Regions from separate parts of the Homo sapiens genome. Here all the other regions are linked to region 5. The links are contacts of gene promoters, found by promoter capture Hi-C in blood cells and fetal thymus (Javierre and others, 2016). All regions are on one chromosome and are shown on one strand. The core of a region is centred on a gene start or on the middle of the fragment in contact, and the rest is flanking DNA. Distances in the headings are between cores, read along the strand shown. Region 1 has its middle 20 kb from the start of PARVB. Region 2 overlaps PARVB (parvin beta). Region 3 holds the start of PARVG (parvin gamma). Region 4 overlaps EFCAB6 (EF-hand calcium binding domain 6). Region 5 holds the start of PRR5 (proline rich 5). Region 6 overlaps SAMM50 (SAMM50 sorting and assembly machinery component).

Region 1 (3,384 bases), core at 738-3,237, 700 kb before region 5:
CCCAATGGACTCCCTGGAGGAGTCTCAGGATCTCCAGGGGGCCGTGGACCACGCTTCGGGAACCACTGATCTATCGTTGTCCAAAGCTAATTTTTTCAGCTTTCGGGGTCCTCCCCAGGTGACTTGCAATAGAGTAATTGTGAGAATGCCCATAAGGGCTAAGCTGGGACTTAAGCACCCTCCTTTTATTTTCAGATGTAAATCATATTCACCTCCCTGCCGCAGATCCTTTGTGAAATGGGGTAGTCGAGCCTATCAGTATCGAGAGAAACAAAAGCGAAGTGCCTGGCACGTGGTAGGAACTCAGAAGTGGCAGGAGGGGGCAGTGGGTGTTGGTGGAGGGGCAGAGGCGGGTGCGTGGTCTCTGCGCTCCGTGGGGTGGGTAAGAACCTGCCAATCCCAGTGGGTTCTAGTAGGAGGGATGTCTTTCCTGCGTGGCTGTACACAGGAGAACACTGTAAAGAGCAAGGACTGGCATTAAATTCTGCATTAAACGTGAGGCCTGTTTTTACATTTACACATACAGATTTCAGTTTGCGTAGTGAACCGTGGGAGGCTGTCTCAGTCGTGCCTTCCTGGGGTCAAACCAGTTGGCCTGTTTTCAAGAATGAAAAATGCTTTGCCCGAAAGTGGGGCGAATGGTAATCACAGACACACACGTCTCGGTGCCAGAGTTGTAGCTTTATACATAGTGCCTTCCTGACAAGTAAATTACTGGATTCCTTTGCCAAATCATTAGATAACTTTTAAGAGCAACAAACATTCATGCAAAAGGAGATTCAGCATTATCTTGTTAGAAAAATAGTCATGATTTTTGAAAAGCAAGGACATTCTGTGAAGTTTGACCAACTGTGAAAATTACAGCCTTTCTTCCCCGTACTTCCCCCGTGCTTTTCAATCAATCAGTTTCTAATGGATGAAGCATTCCCTACATTTGTCACTAGATGGATGTGCCGGTCAATTAAAATATTCTGACTTCGCAGGGTTGAGATAATAGCCAGCCTGGATCCATCCGTTACTGTGAAATAGAAGGTGACCTTCCTGTATTGAGTCAGAGACCCAAATACAATTGCTTTGATCTTATTATCATAGCCAGAAATTACCGTTCATCTAAACGTAATTTCCCTGAAATACTGAGCGGGCAGAGCTACTGCTGGAAATACCAGAACATCATAAAGAGACTGTGATGTGGCCTTGGGGATGAAAGGTGACATCTTGACTTGACATCCATTCCACCTGACTGCAGAAATCAAGTGGAATGGAATTTCCTGGGATGTTCTGTATCTAGTAAAGGCTAAGTAGGATTCATCACCAAACCTTAACCCAGAGAGATTAAGCCCTGTTATAATGTGCTGCGGCAGCCACGCCAGGACTGGACTCCCTGGAATCTGACCCTTTCTTTCCATTCCCACACTCCCAGGCCAGGGTCCTAGCCTTTCCTGTCTGTCTGAAAACTGCTCTTCCAGGGGTGGGGAGCAGGAAACCTTGTGTTGGGGTGGAAAGAGCCTGTGTTTAGGAGTTGGAGCTGGCTTTGGATTCTCACTTCCTTTGTTCGCTTATTCGTTCCTCCAACATGGACATTGGGCCAGGTGCAGGGTGTTGTACAGGTGGCTCTTCTGGCAACTGCCGTCAGGTTTACCCTCCTCTTTAGCCCCAGAGGTCCCACAGCCTCCTGTGTCTGCCCATCCCTTACCTCCGATGTCCCCTTCCCTGAAGTTGTTCCAAATGACCTGTAGTTGCCGCTGCTGGGCCTGGCTTCTGCAGGGCTGGCCACTCCCCTTCTCCAGGGAGCCCCTAGTTCTGTTTGGAGAACTTTGCCAGGTGCTGGCCCTTCCCCACTCTTGGGATGGAAGCCTCTAGAACAGGATGGAGAGGGGTGTATCCATCTGCATGTCATTCTCTGGTCAGAGAAAATAAGTTCCACCTTTTCTGAGCTTGAGTGAGAAAAAAACAATCAAACTAGATGTTTGCCAAAGACATCACAGCAGACACGAAGTAGCAGAGCCATGGGCACAGAAAAGGGAGCCTGGGTACCCCCTGCTGGCAGAGGTGCTGGGGCAGGAGCAGGCGCTCCAGGTCGCGCGCGAAGTCAGTGAGGACCCTTTTGAGCTCCCCGCAACTGAAGAAGGAATTAATAAAATCAACTATAACCTAACAGTAGTAGTAATAGAAATTTTAAAATCCTCTCAAAGTTGCTGCAAAGTGTGACCCCCCCCTTACTCTCAAGTTAAAAGAGAATATTAACAGTCTGTCTTCTCTCTGTGGACAGTGGACCTTATCTATACTCCCCAACTCCACATTCCTCAAAGTTTGTTACAGGCCCAGCGAGTTCCTGCTTACCTCCCTAGCATGGCTGCAGGGTCACAAGACCAATAAGTTTAGGTGGCAAGACATGTTTCTCTCAAGATATAAGAAATGTAATGCTGTCTTTGTTTCTTGCTTCTGTAACTTGCTTCCCGCCTCACGTAGTTCCTGCCTTAAGATGTTTACAAGTAGAAAAAGCCCTTTGTTCGGGGCTCAAACTTTCTGGACCTATGTCCGGCTGAGCTGGTGATCACCTTAATTTAATAAACTCTCCTGAACCTTTTCCGTCTCTCCAGTCTTTGATTGTCCTGCAACACAACGTCCGGTTTGTGAGCATGCACTGCTTTTGTCTTCTGGGCTAAGCCAGAACAGGCAATAGGGTTAAGCACCTGAAGTACATTTTAAGGAGAATTAGGAGCCATTGTTCCAAAAAGATTCTAAAAATGGATGATTGATTTAAAAGGTTCTCAGGGACAGTGCTGTGTACTCAACAGACTCCTGACCGACCTGCTTATGAGCCTTGAAAACAGAAAATCTTTATTTTGCAATAAAGGTGGGAAAAATACAACAGCTCTTTAAAAATCAATGATTAAAAAAATTTTATAGTTTTATTTATTTATTTTTGAGAGAGGGTTTCACTCTGTCACCCAGGCTGGAGTGCAGTGGCACAATCACGGCTCACTGCAGCTTCAACCTCTTGGACTTAAGCAATCATCCTGCTTCAGCCTCCCAAGTAACTGAGACTATAGGCGTGTGCCACCGTGCCCAGCTAATTTTTTCTATTTTTTTTTTTTTTTTCTGTAGAGACAGGGTGTTGCTATATTGCCTAGGCTGGTGTCAAACTCCTGGGCTCAAGCAGTCCTCCTGCCTTGAACTCCCAAAGTGCTGAGATTACATGTATGAGGTACCACGCCTGGCCGTTTTTTTTTTTTTCTTTTTACACAAATAATAGCATACTGTAGTTCCTGTTACATGCTTTTCTCTTTCTTTTCTTTAATTTTTTCAGAGACAAGGTCTTGCTCTGTCACCTAGGCTGGAGTGCAGTGGTGCTGAGGCAGGAGAATGGGTTCTGGAGGCAGG
Region 2 (3,338 bases), core at 618-3,117, 620 kb before region 5:
TCTGTCTTCAAAGCCATCTCCCGATCTTTCTCTGTCTCCTTCGCCACACCTCCTCTGGCTCTGGCCCTCCTGCTTCCTCTTGTAAGGACCCTGTCAATCACATTGGGCCCCCTGCATAATCCAGGCTAATCTCCCACCCCAAGGTCCTTACCTAATCACATCTGCAAACTCCCTCTTGCCATGCAAAGTCACAGTTTCCTGGGACTTGATGTGGACATCTTTGCAGGGACCAAGATCCAGCCTTCCATAGAGACAGTGACAGATGGAGTAGAAAGTACATCCTTTGAGTTTTTACAGGAGACACTGCAGTAGAGAGAATGGTAGAGTCCCGAAACCCTGATTCATTCATTCATGAATTCACCGAGTGTTCACGGAGCACCTGCCTCAGTCCAGGCGTCATGTTGGGAGCAGGGGAGACAGAGCAGGCCATGCATCTGTCCTTTCAGAGCACTGTAGACGCAAATCCTGTAGCACAGATGTGCCTTAGACTAATAGTGCCTCGAAAGGAGAGGAAGGGGAATGGATGCGGGGAGTGGGGAACCTGACCTGCTTTGTGGGGTCATGGAGTGACTCTCCACCTGCCGTCATCCCTCCATCCCTTGTTTGGGGCTGTTCCTCCAAAGGTGCAGTCTCCAGCAGGGGTGTGGGGACCCCTGTGGGCCGTGAAGGCCTTTCTCCTTTTCTGCTGTGGGCATTGCATCTGTTCCTGATGGGTAGAGTTGTCTGTGCCCGGTGGGGCCCAAGGCAGTGCCATGGTGGTTCTTTGAGTATCTCAGGTGGGAACTGAGCTGCCAGCACCAGAGGCCAATGGCTTCCAGCACTCCCCAAATCCACCTGCTTTTGGAAGGGGCCTGTCTCCGAAGCAGGCCGGGTCCTCCTGTTGGGGGAAGCTTTCATGGAGGCATCTGTGTCACTTCTGCAGGGGAGACAGCCGCTAGAGGGCACTGTCCTTCTGGCCTTTCCCACATCCCCGTTTCCATGGCAGGTGCATAGTAAAGCCTTTCTTTTTCTAACGACTTAATGATTTAATCTTCTTATTTTCTCAGCAGACAACGCTTTGGACTTCCCTGGATACATTGGGACGTTACCAGTCACATTAATTAATACGAGTTTCACAACTTGGGAACCAGCGAACGTGCTTCTCCAGACTTAGCTTCTGCACGGCCGTTTCTGCTTTCCTTTATGAAGTGCGTTTCTCTAAGAGCCTGGCAGTCTCATGGGGCTCGTCTGTTGCTGGAAGTGAGCAGCGGGTTCCATTGCCCCCCGCCTCGGTGGGGCTCATTGTGCAGCTTGCTGGCAAGTGGCTGGGCTCGGAGGGGCGGTGACGGTGACACACGCCAGGGGAAAGGTTGGCATCCTCTTCTGAGAATTGTTTCTTTTGGGTTTCACACCCTGCCCCCACCTTCTGCTGCCTCGAGGCTCTTTTCTTCTTATTATTAGCTAATGACAGATTTCATGACCAGTGACTGAAATCATTTGGAAGTACCCCCTGAAAGCCAGCGTGATGGGTTGGAGAAATGTGACAGACGCAGCCTCTGAAAATCACAGAGGCAGAGGCTTGCGTCGAAGGACTTGCTAAGGAATTAGGATGAGAGTGGTCAGGAGGCAGTGGCTGCTGGGCACTGGAGCTGAGGGTGAGGGGCCGAGAAAACGGGAGGCAAATGGGGTAGCTCTTTTTTGGGGCGGGGGAGGCTGGCTTTGGGGATGTGTATCCCACTGTGCACCGCAAGGTGGGGGCACTGGGCGGTAGGTTCCCGTGCTCCGGAAGGGTGGCAATTGAAGGGAGGAATTAAAGAAGTTGGCCAGGTGCGGTGGTTCGTGCCTGTAATCCCAGCACTTTGGGAGGCCGAGGCAGGTGGATCACTTGAAATCAGGAGTTCGAGATCCACCTGGCCAACATAGTGAAACCTCATCTGTACTAAAAATACAAAAATTAGCTGGGTGTGGTGGTGCACACTTGTAATCCCAGCTACTCAGGAGGCTGAGGCAGGAGAATCGCTTGAATCTGGGAGGTGGAGGTTGCAGTGAGCCAAGATCGAGCCACTGCACTCCAGCCTGGGCGACAGAGCAAGAGTCCGTCTCAAAAACAAAAACAAAAACAAAAAACAAAAAACAAAAACTGACTCATGTGGCTTTCAGTCTGAGAAACCAATCAGATCATCATTGTCTCTAAAGAATGTGTCCTCCTTTGTAGACAAGAAGCTCACCGGCCCCTCCATGCCCCGGTTTCTCGCCCAGGTGGGTTAGACGGCCAACCTGACATTTTACCGTGCACCTGGAAGTCTTTCTTCCTGTTCTCCTTCCCACAAAGGATTCATTTTTCTGTGGTTCTAACATTTTCCTGATCACCCCAGGGACAAAGGGGAAGAAAAGACCGTGTTTCTGGGCCAAGGGAATCATCTGTTTAACATGGGCTTCGGAGCTTTTTTTACATTTCTATGTAAGCAACTTTTCGTATTCAGAAGACCCAGTTTCCCTGAGCCAGATGGACTCCTTCCATCTCGGGGTGGTCTGTATTTCAGATTCCTGCAGCAGGTGGCTGGTCGGAATGCACACCCCAGGAGGTGAGGCTGGGGGGATGTTGGCTCCTGGGCTGCTTGTACTAGCAAGTCCCTAATTGCGGAGCGGACTCCTTCCTCCTGAGCCCATCAGCCTCTACGTGGCCACATCAGGGTAATTGGGTTCCTTGTGAAACACGACTGCCAGGCTAATGTAAACCTTAATGGAAACCCTCTTTTTCCACCCAATTAAGTGGCTGGAGGTGGGATGCTGTGTGAGAGCCGTCAGTTCAGTTCCCTGACTTTCTCTTGTAGAAATTATCTATGTAGCTCCATTTGGCCTACATAAGCTTAGCATTTGTGTTCATTCATTCATTCATTCCACAGATATTCAGAGAGCAGTTATCCATGTGCTGGGTTTTATGCAGGATGTGAGGCCATGGTCATGAATGGGACCTGGCCCCTGTGCACTCCTTGCGGGGTCGGGGGGTGCAGGGAGATGAGCACAGTCCACAATCACATGATCGGGGAATAGGGTTTGTCATTGTCATGTGCACGGGGAGCTGTGGAAACCCAGAGGAGGGGCCCGAACTGCACCCAGGGATAGAGGATGTGCAGAGTGTGCTTTCCAGACGGTGGGAAATGGGTGGAGCTAGCTGACCTGAAGTGAAGGGCATTGCAGGTTGTGGGGACAGTCGAGCAGAGGGGCAGAGATATGACCTACAGAAGTGGCCTGGAATGGCCTCATCAGACGATGAGTGTGGAAGCATGGTAACTGCAGCTGTATTGATGAGAGGAGGGGTCTGCTCATTAACAGTCATCGGGTACCACTATGAAGGT
Region 3 (3,122 bases), core at 623-3,122, 520 kb before region 5:
TCTTAACTATTTTTAAGTATACAGTTCAGTAGTGTTTGGCATATTTGCACAGGTATATTTCACACCGTGTCTCTGAAAAAAAAAAAGGCTGGAATAATTCCCTTCTATCCATGCCTTTCTCTTAATTGGGGTTTGGGGGTGCTTGGACTTATCTCCATGTTACTCTTCCAATTCTTAGAGTCCCTCTCTTCCCCTAAACAATGCTCTACACACAAGAGGCTTTGTGAGTTGTGGATTTAGTCTGTTGTAACTCCACACCATACAGGATTAGATTTCGCATCTGATTCTTACATCAGCCCTGCAGCCCCAAGAGATGAGAGATAGCTTTGAGGGCTATCAGAGAACTCCCTGTATTCTGCACATACCTTGAGCTGAGAATGTAAAGCCCTGGGACTGTCCTTTTCTTGCTTTAAACTCTTTGGTGTGATGATAACAAGCTCACCCCACAGTCCTTAGATAACCTGTGCTCGTATTGCGTATGGAAGCCACAACTCTGCCAAAGCCACAATTTAATAGGTACTTCGTTCTGAGTGATGACAGGTAATTATTTTGCCATCACAGGCTACGATCTATTAGAACTCCATTCTCTAACAGTTACTAGGTCCCCACTGCCTTTAAATCAACCAGAACAAGTAACCAATCCCAGTTCCCATCCTGGAGGTCGTGTTGCCTGCAATTGTTTCTGGTAACAAATCCGAAGTTAATTGGGATTCAGTTGCCGATGATTAGAGTCTCTTCAGTTGTTTGGAGGAGAAAGGAATCTAACATAGGAAGCTGTGTGATTCTCAAGCTGTTGGAAGGCTGGAGGCAGCGCCTCCAGCAAGGACTCTTGGAAGAATACTGCAGAGCTGGCTCCTGAAGGAAGCTGCCGAGTCAGGCTGGCCCTAGAAGCATGCTTTCTGGGTTGAATGCTTTAGGTTCACCTCTGCAGATCCACTCCCCACCATTTTCTCTCCTCACATCTATGGGCCGCAGCAGGGGACTTCTTTTCTCTGGCTTCTGGCTGGATGTGGGCAGGGGAGGCCCTGGCAGGAGGGAGGAGAGTGAGGCTTGGTCATTGATTCCTCCAGCTGTGCCCTTCTGCTGGTTCACCATGAGCTGGCTGTGTCCCTCTACCAAAGGCCACAGCTCCTATCCCGAGGCCCCTCTTAGAGCTTCAGTGATTCTGTTCCTGGGCTCTGCCACCCACTCCCTCCTTCACCCTCTAGGTTTTGAAGAAGTAACAGCTCCCCATGTTGCTAGCCTGGGGTGTAGCACTGTCTCTTCTGGGTTCCTTTAACCCTGCCCCAGCTGTCCCTTTATTAAACAGTCTTCAGTTAGCACATGGGAATATACCGTCTCTTTGCTGCTGGGACTGTGACTGCTGCTACATCTATGTGGCTGTGATCCAGAGTCAGAAGCCACCACCAGAACCACTGTGTCCAGAGCTGGGCTGAGCCTGCTACACACGCCCCAGCAAAATAGGTCCTGCACGGTGGCTTCTCTCCCCACCTGTTACAAGCCCCAGTCTAGCACGGGCACTTCAGAATGGCAGGGACTGACTCATGTGCCTCAGTGTCTTCCTCTGTAATATGGGGGTGATGATTGTACCTACCTCACAAGGAAGTTTCCAGTAAAATGAAAGCCCTTAAAATTATGTTTGTTTCATCACCAATGACTCCATAAATATTAGCAACAATACCAGTACTAAGTTTTGTCATTTTTTATTAACTTCTTGTAAACGACCCTACTTTCCTGCTCTCACACACTCCTTACACCTGCATCCCACCTGATTTAGCCACTTTCTGCCTAACCTGTCAGAAAGGGTAGATAGCTTCCCAGTCACCTGTTGCTAGGGAAACTCACCATTTCAGCCCGGATGGTGAAGATTCCAGCTTGAGAGACCAGCTCGGGTCTGAAGTGTTTCTCTATCTACTGTGCTGAGATCTCTCCTTCTCGAACCCTGCTATGCCTTTGCATACGCTGTTTTCTCCACCTGCCACGTTCTCACCCCTTCTTCTTCCACTGCAAACTCCTATGCAGCCGTCAAGGCCCCATTCTCCTCTGGAAAGCCTTCCCGATCCCCTTGGCAACAACCACCACCAATATTTATTCACTGAGCCCACTTTGTGCCAAGCATTGTTCTAGACACGGGTATGTAACCGCGATTGAGAGAGACAGACCACGCACAGCCTGGATTTTATTTTAAGAGCTATTGGGTGCCGTTGGTGGGTTTGAGTGAGTGGGGTCAGGAAGTGACTCACTCCTCCGAGGGCTTGTGGGAGCCTCAGCTCAGGGGCGGGCAGGGGGCGTGGGGAAGTCTGCAGCCGAGAGTCCAGGTAGGAGTCTCCTGCGTGGTCCCGGGAGAGGAAGGGGCCTGGCCCGGGGCGGGGTGTGGAGGTGGGAGGACGGCGGTGCGGGATGGAGGGTGGAGGCCAGGCTGACAGGGTGCTGGTGGTGGGTTGCGGGGGTCGACCCCAGGCTCTGGCCTATGTAGCTGCCATTTTGGAGGTGAACAGCCTGCGGGGAAACTGGCATGGTTTGGGGAAGGCGGGGAGAGGGGGAGAAATGAAAGCATTGAGTTTAAGTGGCCTGCAGAACCCCGGGGGCCCAGGCGGCACGGCGGGCGCTGGGGCTCCGGGCAGAGCTTTCTGGAGGTTTGTGGCAGCTTCACTTTCACGGCATCCACCCCCCTCGGGCCCTGCCGCAGAGAGGAGGAAGCTCCTGCCGGCTGAGCGGGCCTGGAGGAAGTGAGCAGCGGGGCTCCTGCCTCCCGGCCTGGTCCCCGAAGACCCCAGAAGAACCCGGAACTTGCTTCCATTCGGAATCCAGGGACCACCCTTTGCACTCAGTAGGCCTTTGTTTTCCTGCGTGGAAAGCGGTTGGGTGAGTTCTGGCATCGGGGCCACCATACTTGAGTGTTGGGGGTCACGGAGGGAGGGGCCCAGACACCACCTGGGAAGGATCCCAGAGTGCAGTCCCAGCCCAGGCCACCCGGGGAAGGGAGTCGGTAAAGTGGGACCTTGAGTCCCCACGGCCCCTCCGGCTGCCCCTGCTCAGAGGCTGCTCGGCGTCCTCCCTCCCTGTTCTACTGAGGAGTTGCCGCCTCTGAACTTCAGCCAACCCCTCCGTCTCCAGGTGAA
Region 4 (3,175 bases), core at 562-3,061, 890 kb before region 5:
TTCCTCTAGTCCTACCTCAATTTTCACTTTGATTCTCTGCTTCCAGACCTTTATGTTGGCCCCTGCTAGACAATAAGTCCCTCCAGTGGACTCCACTTACCTTTTTACACTCAACATGGCATAGCATGCAGTAAGCACCCCATTAAACTTTGCTCTTGATGGACCACAGTTATCAACACTATGACTGCAAGGGATAGAAGCTTAGGCTAATTTTACCCTTGATTTTGAAAGCTAAACAAGGTTCTGAGTATGACCAAGGCACTGTGAGGAGTTCTGTAGCTCACCCCTGACTTTACACCATCCTCAGCTGAGGTTTTCAAAATAAAGAGAATTTTGAGACATTAATGAATGTGATTACTTCAGAACTTGGTGAGGTAGAAATTGGCAAGGATCATAAAAACTAATACCCCCAAAATAAGCATCAAGTCACAGACCATCAAATACACTTCTTAACCAATGGGAAAAACACAATTAGAAGGCTATCTCACTGATATATTTGTTTATTTGCCAGAGAAGTATTGATGTCCAGTTTTAAACACGTGCTATTTATATCAGAATCATAACAAAAGTGCCATCCATCTGCCTTGGCATCCAGAGAAAACATAATTCAACACAAGAGTAAAAAGTGTGCACAGCCAAATAGAAATGGCACCAGAAGCAAAAATTGCTGGAACTGTATCATGGAGAGGGGTGTGGAAATTATCACTCGACTAAATTGGAAAAAATTGTAAGCAACACAAAAGGTTTTGGCAGTTAAATCCAAACACTTGAGAAAAATCTTCTTGTCTATACTGATATCAAATGGACTGTTATATTTTGGGACATATCAACTATCAAGTTCCCTTTATAGCCTTCCACACACTTCCATATACACATTGGCCATTTACTGAGCATCTACATTCTTGGACGGTGGAAAAATCAAAACCTTTGACGTCAAGCAGGCATAGGGTCAAACTGGCTCCACCATCCACCACAACAACTTGCAAGTTAATTAACCTCCTCCTGACTCAGTTTCCTCATTTGAAAAAGGGAGATACAGTTGTCGTCCATATCCATGGGTTCCACATCCACAGATTCAACAGTGGATTGAAAATATTCAGGAAAAATATGGATGTTGATGTCTGTACTGAATATGTATGGACTTTTTTCCTTGTCTCAATGATATGGTATAACGATTTCCATAGCATTTACATTGTATTAGGTATTGTAAGTAATCTAGAGATAATTTAAAGCATATGGGAGGATTATGTAGGTTATATGCAAATACTACACCATTTTATATAAGGGAATTGAACATCCATGAATCTAGGTATCTTCGAGTGGGTGCTGAAACGAATCTCCCACAGATACTGAGGGACCACTGGAATATCTCTCCTTTAAGCAAGTATTCTTAACATGGAATCGCGGTCCATGTGTGTGCTTTTATAGCCCTACAGACTTACTGACATGCAAAACTGTGTGTGAGATGATTTTTCTAGAGCACTTCTCAAAAGGCAGGTGACCCCAAAATGGTAAATGCCACTGCTCCAAAGGTGTAGATGGATCACAGGTGATATTCGTGAAGTGCCTGGCACACAGTGAACTTTAGCTATTTGGTAGCTGTTATTTTTAGGTCCCGAGGATATACAGAAAGATAAATCAGACAGAGCATTGGGCAAAAACAAAAACAAAAACAAAAACAAAAAACAGCTATATGGTTATAGGTGTCACCTCAGAATATCAGAATAAAATAACAGAGAAAAAACAAAAAGTGAGTCCAGAAAAAAACCCAGCAGGAAGAACTGGCAGGATGGAAACACCAGGAGTGCCAAGGCAGTGAGATGACCACTGCCTGGGGATCCCCAATGCTTAGGCAGGGGTTGGCATATGGCAGATGCTCAATGAATAGTTGCTAAGTAAATGAGCAAACAAATGACTGAAACCAACCCAGGATGCAGGATAACACCATTTACAACGTCCCAGGGGAAAAACTACATTCAGAAGGTGTTATCGAAAACTTACTATTCAGAAATCTTCAATCTCAAATATTCAGTTCAAATGCTAAAGTCCACATTCTCTCCCTGAAGAGTGAGGACATTAAGCCCACACTTTTGTCATTGGGCAGTAATCTAGGCCCTTCCAATCCTCTGCGATGAGCCCTGTGAGAAATTTATTTTAGAAACAGGTTAGACCTATTTTTCCAGATGAATCAAAAGGCCTTATTTCCCTGGAAAAAAAAATAAATTTTATTACCTTCTATTTTTTTACTTTTATTTTTCCATGAGTTGACAAGAAGCTCCCAGCTAAATTTCCAGCCCAACTTTATTAACCGTTATAGATGATCTGAGTATTCCTTCTTTCTGATACCTTCCTATTCTGTCTATATTTTTAATGATTCTGATTTACATGTTTCTATTTTATCACATTGTAGTTATTCTTACAAGTCATCTCAAAGCCTTGGCAGGACTTGTAGAGTATATAAGTGTTTGAGAGTGATAGCATACTCATCAAGAACACAGGTTATTATCAGGCAGTCCTGGAGTTGGAGCCATACTCACTACCATTTATCAGCTTTGTTAAGTCCCTTAACCTCTCTGTGTCCCTGTTGCCTTTTGTTTTGTTTTTTTGTTTGGTTTTGGTTTTGTCTGTTTTGAGATGGAGTTTTACTCTTGTTGCCTAGGCTGGAGTGCAATGGTGTGACCTCGGCTCACTGCAACCTCCACCTCCCAGGTTCAAGAGATTCTCCTGCCTCAGCTTCTGGAGTAGCTGGGATTACAGGTGCCTGCCACCATGCCTGGCTAATTTTTTGTATTAGTAGAGATAGGGTCTCACCACGTTGGCCAGACTGGTCTCGAACTCCTGACCTCAGGTGATCCAACCGCCTCGGCCTCCCAAAGTGCTGGGATTACAGGCATGAGCCACCGCGCACAGCCTGTTTTGTTTTTTGAGACAGGGTCTCATTCTGTCGCCCAGGCTGGAGTACAGTGGCATTATCATGGCTCACTGCAACCTAAAACTCTTGGGTTCAAGTGATCCTCCCATCTCGGCCTCCTGAGTAGCTGGAAGTACAGGCACATGCCACCATAGATATGGGGGGGGTCTGACTTTGTTGCCTGGGCTGGTCTCGAACTCCTGGCCTCAAGCGATCCTCCTGCCTCAGCCTCCCAAAGTGGTAGGATTACAGGCATAAGCCACC
Region 5 (3,444 bases), core at 720-3,219:
GGGAGGATCACCTGAGGTCAGGAGTTTAAGACCAGCCTGGCCAACATGGTGAAACCCCATCTCTACTAATAAATAAAAAAATCAGCCAGGCGTGGTGGTAGGTGCCTATAATCTCAGCTACTCACTAGATTGAGGCAGGAGAATCACTTGAACCTGGGAGGCAGAGGTTAGCAGTGAGCCATGATTGCGCCATTGCACTCCACAGGCGACAAGAGCGAAACGCCATCACACACGCAAAAAATCAGCCAGGCATGGTGGCACATGCCTTGTAGTCCCAGCTATTCAGGAGGCTAACGTGGGAGGGTTGCTTGAACCCAGGAGGTAGAGGCTGCAGTGACCACAGTGGTGCCACTGCATTCAACCTGGGCCAAAAAGTGAGACTCTGTCTCAAAAAGAAAAGAAAACGTGTACAGCACTTGACAGTTAGTTTATAAAGCACCTGTTGCTGCCTGTGGGCCCCAAGCTGCCTGTGAGATGAACCGTTCCATCCCGCTTTACTGATGAGCAAGTTTGTCTGTTTATGTCTCTGTCTCCCAAAGACGATGGTATTTATGTCTGGAACACAGGAGGTACTCAGGAGACACTGGTTGATTTGCACTAAACAAAGACTCTTCATGAGGCTCTCTTACTTTTTATTTTATTTTATTATGATGATGATGATTTTTGAGACGGAGTTTTGCTGTTGTTGCCCAGGCTGGAGTGCAGTGGCGAGATCTCAGCTCTCTGCAACCTCTGCCTCCCAGGTTCAAGCGATTCTCCTGTCTCAGCCTCCTGAGTAGCTGGGATTACGGGCATGCACCACCACGCCCAGCTAATTTTGTATTTTTAATAGAGATGGGGTTTCTCCATGTTGGCCGGGCTGGTCTTGAACTCCTGACCTCAGGTGATCCTCCCACCTCGGCCTCCCAAAGTGCTGGGATTACAGGCATGAGCCATCACCTCTCTCTTACATTTTATATGGGGCCCTCCCAGCTCCTGGAGCTGTGGCTGTCACCCCCCATCTGATGGAGGGGTCAGGTGAGCCTTGTGGGAATCCCAGAAGCTGGGGACTGGGAAGGGCCCTGTTCAAGGGGCTGGACGCTCCCTGTGGTGAAGCCCAACTCTACCATTTGTTGATTGCACAATGTTGGCACAATGTTGGGCAAGTTATTTCACTCTGTGAGCCTCAATGTCCTCAACTGGAAAATGGGGAGAAGAATAATCTCTACCTCACGGAAGTAGTTCATGTTAGTTCATGTGAAATCAGACATCTAAAAGTGCTCTGCGAAGCAGGCAGGAAGCACCGGCTGTGCCCTGCCTTCACTGGGATCACTCTGCCCCCACCACAGGGACTTGGGAAACTGCTTGGTTTTACCATCCAAGAGACCTGGGGGTGGGAGATAAGGAGCAAACCCTCTACTTCTTCAAGCCCTCACTCCAGCAAATCCTCCAGGCAGCCAGGCAATGCTGAAGTCCCTGTCCAAGGGGGTCTAGGCTGAGCCCGGGTGGAGTGGGTTCTTGGGCCAAGGTGCCTGGAGGGGACTGAAGGCCTCTACCCAAAGTCCTCATGAGAACTGGGTGGGGGAGCCTGTGTTCAGGTGAGGGGTACGGAGGCACCTCTGTGGCACAGCCTTTGCGAGGAGGGCTGTGGAGGGAGACCTCCGGGGCCGGGGTCGAAGGACATCGTGTGGGCGCGACCGCAGTGCTGGGCGGGGGGCGGGCGCTTGGGCTTGGGCCCTGCGTCCTGTGCGTGTTGGTTTCCTGTGGGCACGTGGGGCCCTCGGAAGAGGGGAGGAGGGTGAGCACGTCCTCAGAGGGCAGACCCAGCGAGGCGTCGTGGCAGCTGCGGCCGCGGAGACGCCGGCTCCGCCTCTTGCACACGCCCCCTCGCCTGAGGCCCCGCCCCGCCCGCGATGCCCCCGCCCCCTTCCCCGCCCCGCCCCCCGGGGCGCCGAGACCCGCCCCTGGGCCCGCCCCCGGGTCCGCCCCCGGCCTCCGTTTGCGCCGGGTCTGTGCTGGCCGCGCGCCTGGCGCTCCACGCTGAGCCTCTCCGTGCAATGATTAACCCGGCGGGGCGGCCGGCGCGGGACCCGAGACGGAGGCGCGGGGCCGGGGCGGGACCCCGCAGGACCGCTCGGCTTCCTGCTCTCGCCGGAGTTTCCGCGTAGAGGGCGCATCGCCGGCCCGGGGCCCTTGGTGCGGCGTGGCGCAGGGCGCGGCGTGGGGCGCGCGTGGGCGCGGCGCAGGCGGCCCGGGTCACCATGAGGACTCTCCGCAGGTTGAAGTTCATGAGTTCGCCCAGCCTCAGTGACCTGGGCAAGAGAGAGCCGGCCGCCGCCGCGGACGAGCGGGGCACGCAGCAGCGCCGGGCCTGCGCCAACGCCACCTGGAACAGGTAAGGCCGCGCCCTCCCGGCCACCCGGAGGCCCTGGAGCCGGGGGAGGGGACCCCTGAGCCGTCCGCGGGCTAGGGGCCGCCCCGAGCCAGGAACGCTGCCGAAGGCGGCGCGGCGCTTCACAGTTTGCAAAGAACTTGCCCCGCCGGAGTGGTGCGGGCCTGGAGGAAAGTTCAGTGCAGCGTGGTTCCAGAACCCAGGGAAGGGAGCGAGGCCCGCCAGCGCCCGGGGCTGGCCCAGAAGCGCCCGGCGGGTGGGCGGCGGGGTGGGCCGGGAAGCCGCGTGCCCGCCTCCTACCCGGGGTCTTTCCACGTCTCCACTGCGGTGCTCGTGACAACCTGGGAGGCTAACGGAGCAGGAAGTATTTTTCCCATTTTGCGGCTGAGCACGGGAGCCTCGGGGCTCAGTGGGTGGGTCGCGCAGGCTTCCTGTGTCTCTTTAAGCTCCCTTCGGCTTTCCCTTGAGAGGCCCCCTGTCCTCCAGCTGTCAGCAGGGGGTGCGGCAGCTGCGAGGCATTCTTTAGAGGACTCTCCTCCAGGGGTCATTCCCAGACAAGCAGGGGCCTGGGAAGCCCCTTCTCCCAGCTTTGTTTGAGGAGCAAGTCCGGGATCTGGAAAAGAGACGGTTTATTTAGTGGAACTCCCCAGCGTCTCTGCTCCCTAGGAAAATGAGAGGCAGGAGAAAGTGAGGCAGGCTGTTCGCGGGAGGCAGTGGACACTGTTCGGGGGAGGCTGTGGACACTGTTCGGGGGAGGCTGTGGACGTTGCCCCTCTCGCGCCCACACCTGGCAGTAAAATCTTGCCAGATGCTCCACCGGCTGTGGTCTTGGCCACCGGGAACCCGGCTGTCACTTGGACACACGTTATTTTCAGTTCATTGAATGCATTGTGAGCGTCATGGTGGGCTCAGGGCTGCCAGCGAGACCCTCTTCAAACGTGGTCTCTTCTGTCTCTGAGTTGCAAACTGCTAGAGGGCTGTCACATGCCTGCCTCCGTTTCCCTCTCCGTCAGTGGGTATTCGCATTCCTCCCTGTGGGGAGGGCTGGTGTGGGAACAGTGAAGGAAGGACTC
Region 6 (3,401 bases), core at 30-2,529, 720 kb before region 5:
CATCCATCCGTCCGTCCATCCATCCACCCATCCACCCATCCACCCACCCACCTACCCACCCACACATCCATCCATCCATCCATCCATCCATTCACCCACCCACCCACCCACCCATCCATCCACCAGTCTAACACATGTATGCTGGCTGCCAGGCACTGTCCAGGCACTAAGAATATATCAGTGAACAAAGCCCAATTCCTGCTCTCAAGGAACTTCCATTCTTGAGGAGGGAAACCTATAAGCTAGTATCTTTATATATCATTGAGGAGGCGGTGACAAGTGTTGTGAAGAAAAATAAAGCAGAATTAAGGGGTAGAAAGTGACCAGAAGGGGATGCCATCTAGTTAGGATGGTCAGGGAGGGTGGCTAGTAAGGCAACCCCCGAGCACAGCCCAGAGCACGGTGAGGGAGCAAGGGTAGGACAGCGGGACACCTCGGGCGGGAGCATGAATTCCAAGAGCAGTAGTGGCAGGAGGGCCTTGGAGGCCGGATGTGGGCTCTTGCTTCCACTCTACATGAGAGGGAAGCCCTGGAGCCTTCTGAGCAGAGTCCGGACACCTGGCTGAGAAGAAAATGCCAGCTGCTGTGGGGACAGAAGCTTGTCCTTCCTACAGAAGCTTCTGAGAAAGCCATTTCTGAGCAGCTTGGAGGGACATAGGCATTTGCAAGGCAGAGAACGTGTGAGGCTCGGCCAGCCGCCCGAAAACATGGGGTGCAGGGGAGCAGGAGAGCCTCTACCTGGTTGAGGACATTGTTGAGAAGGTTTTGTGGCATGAAGATGGGCTCACTGAGCCAAGACTGGCTACTGCCTCCTGCCCTGTAAGAGACAAGGCTCTGTCCTTGAGAGTGGGGTTGGGAGTGCGTCTCTGCATTGGGGGAGCCTTGCAGCCGGTACCTTCTTTCAGCCTAAAATGCGTGTGCCCTGAATCCTTCCACATTTTGAGGCCGCGGCAAAGAGGCCTGAGCAGGTGCAGGGGGCCTGGCTCCCTCCTCTGTGAGGCCTTGGCTCCTGCTGCTGGGCGTCACTTCCCGTTGCAGAGCAGGGGCCTGCCCTGTGTCCGAATGGAAGCCGGGCCCTGCTCGCCTTCGGTGTGTCTTGATTTGGACTTTGGAATTGCGTGTTTTAATAGAATCCACGTGGCCCTTCGAAGGGTAGCTCTGCAACGGGACAAGCCAGGCATTCTCCTGCGGCCCTTGCACCCCATCGCGGAGCTCTGCACGCCACGGGCATTCAGTGTGTGGCCAGTTGCTAGTTGCTGATGTTCCTGGAGTGAAAGGAATGCTGGGAGAAAACAACCATTTGTTTCTATTTGAACAGGTTTTTTCAGCGTCTTTCTGGGGCGGAATGTTGGTACCCATTGGTGATAAGCCGTCAAGCATTGCTGATAGGTAAGTACTAATCAATGAATGGATAATTTGCACATATTTTCCTTTGGATCTTTTCAGTTGTTTTTTATAAGATATTTTAGAGAAGTTTATTTAGGAGAGCATAGTATTTCAAATATTCCTTTAGTATTTATGTTTAAGCTAATTTCTAAATATCGGGTATACCTCACACTTAATATTTTTTGCTTTTGTTGGGGAAGTTACTTTATTATATTTAAAATGTATTGTTCCCTTTTGATTATGAAGGAATATAGTTCATACTCATTGCAGAAATGCAAAAATGGAGAAACACTTAAAGAAATTAGAGAAAGCACTCACTAAGTCATGAGAAATTCTTTATAAGCAGCATTGTAGTGGCATATGTTTCATTATTTGCATATACCATAACTTTTTAGCCTACCGTGTATTTTTTGATATTTCATTGGTTTCTAATTTGTGATTTTTGTAAATAACATTGTAAATAATAACTTTTAAGATAACTTGTTGTTTATTTTATTTTCTGTGGTATTACTCTCTCAAAGTAAAACTCATAGTATTGCTGGGTGCTGCTTTTAGGAAGCTTACAGCAATTTATACCCCTACCAGCAGGGTATGAACTTGTACTTGTTGCTTCGAAATACTAATCATTGTCCTCTAGGGCAAAAAAACTTTTTTTTCAACCCTGCATTAGTTAAAATATACTGGTACAGCTTTTTTGGATGGTGGTTTGGAAGTAGAACAATTTTAGGTTTATAAACTCTGGATCCTAACAGTTTCACAAAACTCCATGAATCTAATTTACAAAAGTACTTTTCTAAGTGTGTAAAGATTTATGTGTAGAAGGATGTCCATTGTAGCATTGCTGATGAATAGCAAAGAATTTGAAACTGCCTTATGTAAGTTCCGCAGTAGGGAAATGGTGAAATTCTAGCACAACCATTCCAGATCTATGTAATTATTAAAAATAAGGAGATATGTGTTCATAAGTTAACATTTTGCACATGAATATGTTTAGTGGATCCCTTTCCAGCGTGCATGCAGGTGTAGCACCGAGGGCCTGGGAAGCCAGCCACCAAAACAGTGACGGTGGGCACCCCAGAGCCTGGGATGCAGCAGGCAGAACCATTTCACTCGTTATGTTATATGCATCCTGGATCATTTGAATTCAAATGTGTGATTTATCGTTTCTTTTTTATTTTATTTATGTATGTTTTTTGAGACAGAGTCTTACTCTGTCACCCAGGCTGGAGTGCAGTGGCACGATCTCGACTTACTACAACCTCTACCTCCCGGGTTCAAGCTATTCTCCTGCCCCAGCCTCCCAAGTAGCTGGGACTACAGGCACCCGGCACCACGCCCAGCTAATTTTTGTATTTTTAGTAGAGGCGAGGTTTTACCATGTTGGCTAGGCTGGTCTCTAACTCCTGACCTCAGGTGATGCGCCCACCTCAGCCTCCCAAAATGCTGGGATTACAGGCGCGAGCTACCGCACGTGGCCTGATTGATCATTTCTTTAAAAACGAAGCTTGCTGTTTTTGCAATTCATGTTAATGGGGTATTCAGAAAAGCCTTGCTTAGAAATCCCAAGTAGTAAAAACATATTTATAGGTTTTAAAACTCAAATTAAAATGAAAAAATTCATAAAGGCTTTTATTTGGTAGGAAAACCAGAAAAAGCCGCGCCCTGTTCCCTTTGTGCTGTTGCAGACCTGCAGGGTGTTCTTAGCCTCCCGCGGCCTCAAAGGTCAGAGGGCTCTGAGGGCACCTGCCGGGGTTGTGTCCTTGGCTGCCTCTTGGCTGGAAAGATTACACAGAATTTCTCTTGTCATTTAAATTCATTTTTTAGTAATTATCATAATCTAAAATCGGGTTCTAATATGCTGTTCAATTTTTCAGAAAGTGGATGGGTTTTTATGTAATTAATTTTTAATTCACGCTTTTCATATTATTCAGATATGGTTGGTGAGAGTGTGACAATCCAGTTCATTAGGGAACAAGAGGAGCTCATATTTAAAAATTATAAACCTAACAAGAATT

Evidence for each region. Contacts are between HindIII fragments. The CHiCAGO score rates a contact against its expected background, and 5 or more counts as called.
Region 1: a fragment that was not itself captured here is called in contact with the fragment with the promoter of PRR5 in region 5 in 3 of 17 cell types (total CD8 T cells, naive CD8 T cells and naive CD4 T cells); the score reaches 7.2 in total CD8 T cells.
Region 2: a contact is called between a fragment that was not itself captured here and the fragment with the promoter of PRR5 in region 5, in 1 of 17 cell types (naive CD8 T cells). The highest score is 5.9, in naive CD8 T cells.
Region 3: the fragment with the promoter of PARVG here is called in contact with the fragment with the promoter of PRR5 in region 5 in 2 of 17 cell types (non-activated CD4 T cells and M0 macrophages); the score reaches 5.3 in non-activated CD4 T cells.
Region 4: a fragment that was not itself captured here is called in contact with the fragment with the promoter of PRR5 in region 5 in 4 of 17 cell types (naive CD4 T cells, non-activated CD4 T cells, total CD4 T cells and 1 more); the score reaches 7.3 in naive CD4 T cells.
Region 6: a fragment that was not itself captured here is called in contact with the fragment with the promoter of PRR5 in region 5 in 1 of 17 cell types (total CD4 T cells); the score reaches 5.1 in total CD4 T cells.

Annotation. Positions count from the first base shown.
Region 1 is chr22:44,002,190-44,005,573 of GRCh38, forward strand. It overlaps a transcript of PARVB not described here. Among named protein-coding and RNA genes, the nearest start is that of PARVB, 20 kb to the right of the region's middle. The HindIII fragment of the contact is 5,362 bases long and covers 1-3,384 here.
Region 2 is chr22:44,080,437-44,083,774 of GRCh38, forward strand. The region is part of intron 1 of PARVB (parvin beta); the gene reads left to right. Among named protein-coding and RNA genes, the nearest start is that of PARVB, 58 kb to the left of the region's middle. The HindIII fragment of the contact is 1,958 bases long and covers 889-2,846 here.
Region 3 is chr22:44,179,053-44,182,174 of GRCh38, forward strand. PARVG (parvin gamma) reads left to right here and starts at 1,873. Exons shown (of 14, transcript NM_022141.7): 1 at 1,873-2,133; 2 at 2,690-2,865. RefSeq lists silencers at 1,134-1,183, 2,354-2,483 and enhancers at 1,860-2,590, 2,591-3,122. The HindIII fragment of the contact is 15,489 bases long and covers 1-3,122 here.
Region 4 is chr22:43,806,994-43,810,168 of GRCh38, forward strand. It overlaps EFCAB6 (EF-hand calcium binding domain 6), which reads right to left. Exons shown (of 32, transcript NM_022785.4): 2 at 2,002-2,138. Among named protein-coding and RNA genes, the nearest start is that of EFCAB6, 3.7 kb to the right of the region's middle. The HindIII fragment of the contact is 3,227 bases long and covers 199-3,175 here.
Region 5 is chr22:44,700,235-44,703,678 of GRCh38, forward strand. PRR5 (proline rich 5) reads left to right here and starts at 1,970. Exons shown (of 8, transcript NM_181333.4): 1 at 1,970-2,374. The coding sequence starts at 2,241. It overlaps PRR5-ARHGAP8 (PRR5-ARHGAP8 readthrough), which reads left to right and starts at 1,970. Exons shown (of 15, transcript NM_181334.6): 1 at 1,970-2,374. The coding sequence starts at 2,241. RefSeq lists a silencer at 1,844-2,253. The HindIII fragment of the contact is 5,837 bases long and covers 1-3,444 here.
Region 6 is chr22:43,980,073-43,983,473 of GRCh38, forward strand. SAMM50 (SAMM50 sorting and assembly machinery component) reads left to right here. Exons shown (of 15, transcript NM_015380.5): 11 at 1,319-1,389. Among named protein-coding and RNA genes, the nearest start is that of SAMM50, 26 kb to the left of the region's middle. The HindIII fragment of the contact is 1,328 bases long and covers 616-1,943 here.